Linked DNA regions of Homo sapiens: region 1 is linked to region 2. The links are contacts of gene promoters, found by promoter capture Hi-C in human tissues and cell types (Jung and others, 2019). All regions are on one chromosome and are shown on one strand. Each heading gives the region's core, a stretch centred on a gene start or on the middle of the fragment in contact. The rest is flanking DNA. Distances are from core to core; before and after follow the strand shown. Region 1 overlaps ARHGAP32 (Rho GTPase activating protein 32). Region 2 holds the start of TMEM45B (transmembrane protein 45B).

Region 1 (2,712 bases), core at 160-2,659, 770 kb before region 2:
TTTTGATGTTCATATGCCCTGTTAAAATATACTTACTTTTCATTTATTAATTTTCAGTTAATCCTACAATTTCTATGTTAGTTCTTTAAACCTATTTTTTAAATCATTTTATTCATTAAGTTACAATGCTATTATGCAACTATAAAAGTAAATAATGACAAAGCTTAATGGAGCAATTGCCTAAAAATTTGAGTGCATGTAAACCTTTTCAAAATGATCAACAGAGATATAAGAATACATTTAAAAATCAAAACCATATAAAATTAAGAATGTTAATTATTATGCCTATAAATGCAAAACTAGCAAAACAAGCTAAATACTTGACTGACAGAAAATCTGTGTCTTCAAGCAGTTGATAAAATAACTACACTAGTGAAAAAAGTGTACTCACCTGGTTTTGGCACTGAGTTGGTCACTGACTGGGGAACTTTTTGGTTAATTAACTCAACACAGTGTCCAGGGAAGAGTCCCACCTGATGAAAAGCAACAAAGAAAGGATTCTAAACCAGCAAACAGACCAATTATGTGAACACTGCCAACTGAATTCCAGTAATGTATTCTACAGTCCCTCCCAAATGATTCTATTATTCCAAGACTCTAAATAACAGATGATGCCAATTACACAAACAAATAATAAAACAATCTGTTGCTATGAGTACATAAAGTTATCTGTTTTATTTGTCCAAATATCTAAGTCTGCTTTTTTCCTTTTAGTTTTTAATTTCCCAATCTTTTTTTACATGAATTAAAATATTTAGTCTGACAATGAGCTATGCATGCAAGTAGGTAAAATTTTATAATTTAATAATGCGCTTTACTGAAATCTCAATCCAGTTATGTTGATACCTCTGTTGCCAACTTATGTTTATTGACTTCTCTATGGGTTTTTTAAATCAACACTAAGCCACAACTCAAACTTTTTGTGAATTTTCTCTTCACTCTCTCCCAGGTTTCATAAAAAAAAAAAAAAAAAGACATGACTAAAATAAATGTGTAAAATAATCTCTCATTTAAAATCCTGGTATTCACTGCTTTTAAAAACTAGTAGCGCATGGAAAAGAGGGAAAGTAAGAGAGAAGAAAACAGCCAATCTCAGCAGTGTCAACAGACTCTGGCTTTGAGGAACACACCACAGTGACCTAGTAGCAGAACCGCAGGCATTGCTTTTGGCATTGTAACAAGCCGTATTAGGAAAATGCTGAGTTCCAGATCATCCAGAGATACTGTATAGCCAAAAGGATAAATACCGAGATAAACAGCCTGGAAACAAAAGCAAAGAGGAAATCTTTATCAATATTTATAGATGTTTCCTTAGATAAAAATATAAATGGGCTGCCATGCAGCAGATGTTAAAGCTGAAATATGAAAGCTCCATCACTTTGTGTATCCCTCTGTTGACAGACTCTGGGGAAGAATGGAATAGTTTTCCAAGGGTATGATTCATCACCAAGTTCTGAGCTGTATAATTTCCATCTGTGTGAAATTATTTTCACATACTCATTTGCTACATTCTTATTTCAATTTCTAGATCCATATTCTATGGTAGTTGTTAAAATTGTGAAGATATAAACCAGTTATCATGAGCTGAAAAGGGGTATTAACAGATTATCAGTTTTTTTGTTTTTTGTTTTTGAGACAGGGTCTCATTCTGTCACCCAGGCTGGAGTGCAGTGGCACAATCTAGGCTCACTGCAGCCTCGATCCCCCAGGCTCAAACAATTCTCGCACCTCAGCCTCCTGAGTAGCTGCGACTCTGGGCATGCACCACCTCACCTGGCTAATTTTGTTTATTTTGTGTAGAGATGAGGTATCATTATCAGACTATCAGTTTTGTTCACAAGATGTGAATTTGGGATTCCTATGCACTGCCTTCCAAAATGATGCTTTAGGTATTTGTTTTACTGGTGAAATTCTTTAATATATTCTACTCAACTTCCTATTTTACGGAACAAGTAGAAATGCTTCCAAGACTGATTAGAACCAGGTAAGAGTCAACTTAAAAAAATCTTCATTTTTTTTTCTTACACAAGTCAGTTATGAGAGGGGATATGGGACATGGTTAACAGCGTAGCCTCAAGTAAGTGTTCCACCCTCCATAAAAGGGTTTGGAAAGCGATTATAAAAGTCTCAGGTCGTAAATTAAACAAATGTATACAAAAATGCATTTGTAAATAATCTTTGTTTTTACAAGTCTTTGCAATAAACTGTCAGTTTGGTCTCCAGCAGAGAGAGCTGGAGGAGTGGAGCTTCCAGATGTAGTCTCCGGTGTGAGTCCCAGCAATGGAGACCTTGATGCTATGAGCTCTGGAGACTCTCATGAAGAGGACTTGGGGGGATGAAGAAGTGACTGGGAAACTGCTCATGCCGAGGAGATGGGAGGTGCCCTGGAAATAGCTGCTTCAGGATCTTAAGCCATGACGGATAGAATGTTAAAAGTCATTCCACAAAGTGGTGTGTTTCAATGCAAAGGCTAGAGAACTGTAAAAAGGTGGTTACCAAGGCTGGGAAGATACAACTATTTCAAGAGTGACTCTGAAAAAGATCCTGATGCCTTGAGGTACCCTTCTGAAATTCAAGTAACAATGTACAAATATCTGCCTTGTTTCAGAATTTATGGAGTATACAATTCATGTTTCTAAAAGAGCCTACCTGCAGCTGGTTTCCACATCTGAAATTATAGTGCTCTCCAAGTCACATAGCTGGAAATTAAAT
Region 2 (2,700 bases), core at 20-2,519:
TAAAGCTCATAAAGGTAGTGTGGACCTAAAAGGTGAGCAACAGCAAAATTTATTGCAAAGAGCGAAACAACAAAACCCCAACACCATCGAAGGGGACCCAAACGCAGCTGCCGCTGGCTCGGATGGCCAGCTTTTATTCCCTCATTGGCCCCGCCCACATCCTCCTGATTGGTCCTGCCCACATCCTCCTGATTGGTCCATTTTACAGAGCGCTGATTGGTCCATTTTACAGAGTGCTGATTGGTCCATTTTACAGAGTGCTGATTGGTCCGTTTTTACAGAGTGCTGATTGATGTGTTTACAAACCTTTAGCTAGACATAGAGCATTGATTGGTGCATTTACAATCCTTTGGCTAGAGAGAAAAGTTCTCCAAGTCCCCACCAATTAGCTGGACACAGAGCACTGATTGGTGCATTTTTACAGAGTGCTGATTGGTGTGTTTACAAACCTTTAGCTAGACACAGAGTGCAGATTGATGCTTTTACAATCCTTTAGCTAGACAGAAAAGTTCTCCAAGTCCCCATCCGACCCAGAAGCCCAGCGGGTTTCACCTCTCAGTAGCTTACAGAAGAGGACCCTGCTGCCACAGCACAATACCACAAAGAAAGTCATGCTCTCCTCAGCAGGTAGCCCCCTTCTCCGGGACAGGAACTTTGTTTCCTTCTTAGCTCTATCGCCAGCACCTAGAACAGTGCCCACCTGTCAGATCTGTTATCAGATGGGAACATGGCAGATTTGTTGAATGAATGAAGGAATGAATGAACTATGTGACACTCAAACTTAGCCACCAAACTTAAACTAAAAAAACTGGGTTGTGGTCCCTGATGGACCGTTGGCACCTTCTTCCTTTGCTGGACGGTGATCCGTGGCTGTTTCTGCGGTGTGTTCGCAGTGGTTGCCTGGCTTGGTAACAAACACTCTTCGGAGCCACAGCCTGTTCTCAGGGTCCTCGCCGCCTCCCAGGCCCTGCGATCTCTTTGCATCTCAGGAGGTCCAGGTTGGTTGCAGTCCTCTTGGGTGACTCAGGAACCAGCCTCTCCTGAAGCACACAGCTTAGGGAGTTCCTGAGGCCAGAGACATCTCCACGGGAAAGTCAAAGGCCTGGAGGAAGTGCGGACCTGACGACAGATGCCCCGCACGCTGGCCGGGACCGGGAAGGGCGGTCAAGGGTGGAAAGGGGCTGGCGGCTGCCAGGCCTGGCGGAGTGGAGCGGGGCGGGGCGCAGCGGGGCGGGGCGGGCCTGGAGCTGCACCTGCTTCTGGGCGGACGCACTTGGCGCGCGGCGCGGGCTGCAGACGGCTGCGAGGCGCTGGGCACAGGTCAGACGTCCGTACCCGCAGGGGGCTCGAACCTGGAGGAGGGCTCGAAGGGAGAGGGGGCCCCGCCAAGGAGCGGGGCTGTGATGGAGAGGAGGTTCCGACTCGCAGGGGACCTGCGGGGGAGGGGACGCGGACAGGGAGGGGCTCTGGGACAGGGGTGAAGGCTGCGCTAGGGGAGGACGGGAGGGGATGGAGGGCCCTGGTGTCGCGGAAGCCCAGCTGGGGCCCCCTCCGGGCTGCGGAACCGGTGCGCACACTACTCCCACCGCCCCCGAGTGCCTCTGTCCGGCTGGCCGCGGCCCTGGAACGAATATTGCTCAGTCCCCCGCGAGTCAGGTCTGCCGCGTTGCCCGGTGAGGGGAAGGTGTGAAGCCCCGGGCCTCCGTCTGCCCGGTGAGTCCGGGGACGCGCGCCCCCGGGGATGCCATCTGGCTCCTGGGCTGTGACCAGTCACAGCTCACATAGCTCTGGGCACTGGTACCGACTGCCTTTCCTTGTTAGCTGCGATACACAAATACACGAGCCAGATCCTTTCCTGAGGCCAGGAAGCCTGGAATCTAATAACACCGGGCGGTGGATAAAGTCCCCCGAGCCAGTGCTTAGCTTCCGTTAATGGAGCCATGGATGGAAGCGGATGTCAGGCGCAGTGGGGGAGAAATTTGCGGGGGTGGCCCTGTCTAGGGCCAGAGAAACAACCTCTGAAGCTTTGATCCAGCCCTAGAGGGAAGAAAGATGTGAGTTTCAGCCAGGGAAACGTAGCACTTTAAGAAATAGAAACCCTTTCAAAATTTGAGGGCAGGTAGCTCTCCTAAAAGTTGCAGAAATGGCCACTTCTTTTTTTTTTTTTTTTTTTTTTTGAGACGGAGTCTCGCTCTGTCGCCCAGGCTGGAGTGCAGTGGCGCAATCTCGGATCACTGCAAGCTCCACCTCCCGGGTTCACACCATTCTCCTGCCTCAGCCTCCCGAGTAGCTAGGACTACTGGCGCCCGCCACCACGCCCGGCTAATTTTTTGTATTTTTTTTTTTTTTGGTAGAGACGGGGTTTCACCGTGTTAGCCAGGATGGTCTCGATCTCCTGACCTCATGATCCACCCGCCTCAGCCTCCCAAAGTGCTGGGATTACAGGCGTGAACCACCGCGCCCAGCTAGAAATGGCCACTTCTTTCACGTTCTCTTCGACCGCTTTCTGCGGTGTCTGCCCTTTTCCTCCTCCTGCACCTTTTTGTCTCCTAGGGTCGCATAGCCTTCCAAACAGGCCTGCCTACAGCATTTTACCTGCAATTTTACACTCATTTTAATAGAAAGGATGGCTTATTGTTCATGAGAGACGTGTACTGTTTTTAACCAGATGTGTAATATCTTCAGTATAACCTGGATGTT

Evidence for each region. Contacts are between HindIII fragments. The study calls those that stand out against the background at their distance.
Region 1: a contact is called between a fragment that was not itself captured here and the fragment with the promoter of TMEM45B in region 2, in 1 of the 25 tissues and cell types used here (stomach).

The regions. Positions count from the first base shown.
Region 1 is chr11:129,040,537-129,043,248 of GRCh38, forward strand. ARHGAP32 (Rho GTPase activating protein 32) reads right to left here. Exons shown (of 23, transcript NM_001378024.1): 11 at 392-473. Among named protein-coding and RNA genes, the nearest start is that of TP53AIP1, 99 kb to the left of the region's middle. The HindIII fragment of the contact is 3,799 bases long and covers 1-2,712 here.
Region 2 is chr11:129,814,579-129,817,278 of GRCh38, forward strand. TMEM45B (transmembrane protein 45B) reads left to right here and starts at 1,270. Exons shown (of 6, transcript NM_138788.5): 1 at 1,270-1,320. It overlaps LOC124902793 (a long non-coding RNA gene), which reads right to left and starts at 109. Exons shown (of 2, transcript XR_007062952.1): 1 at 1-109. The HindIII fragment of the contact is 7,942 bases long and covers 1-2,700 here.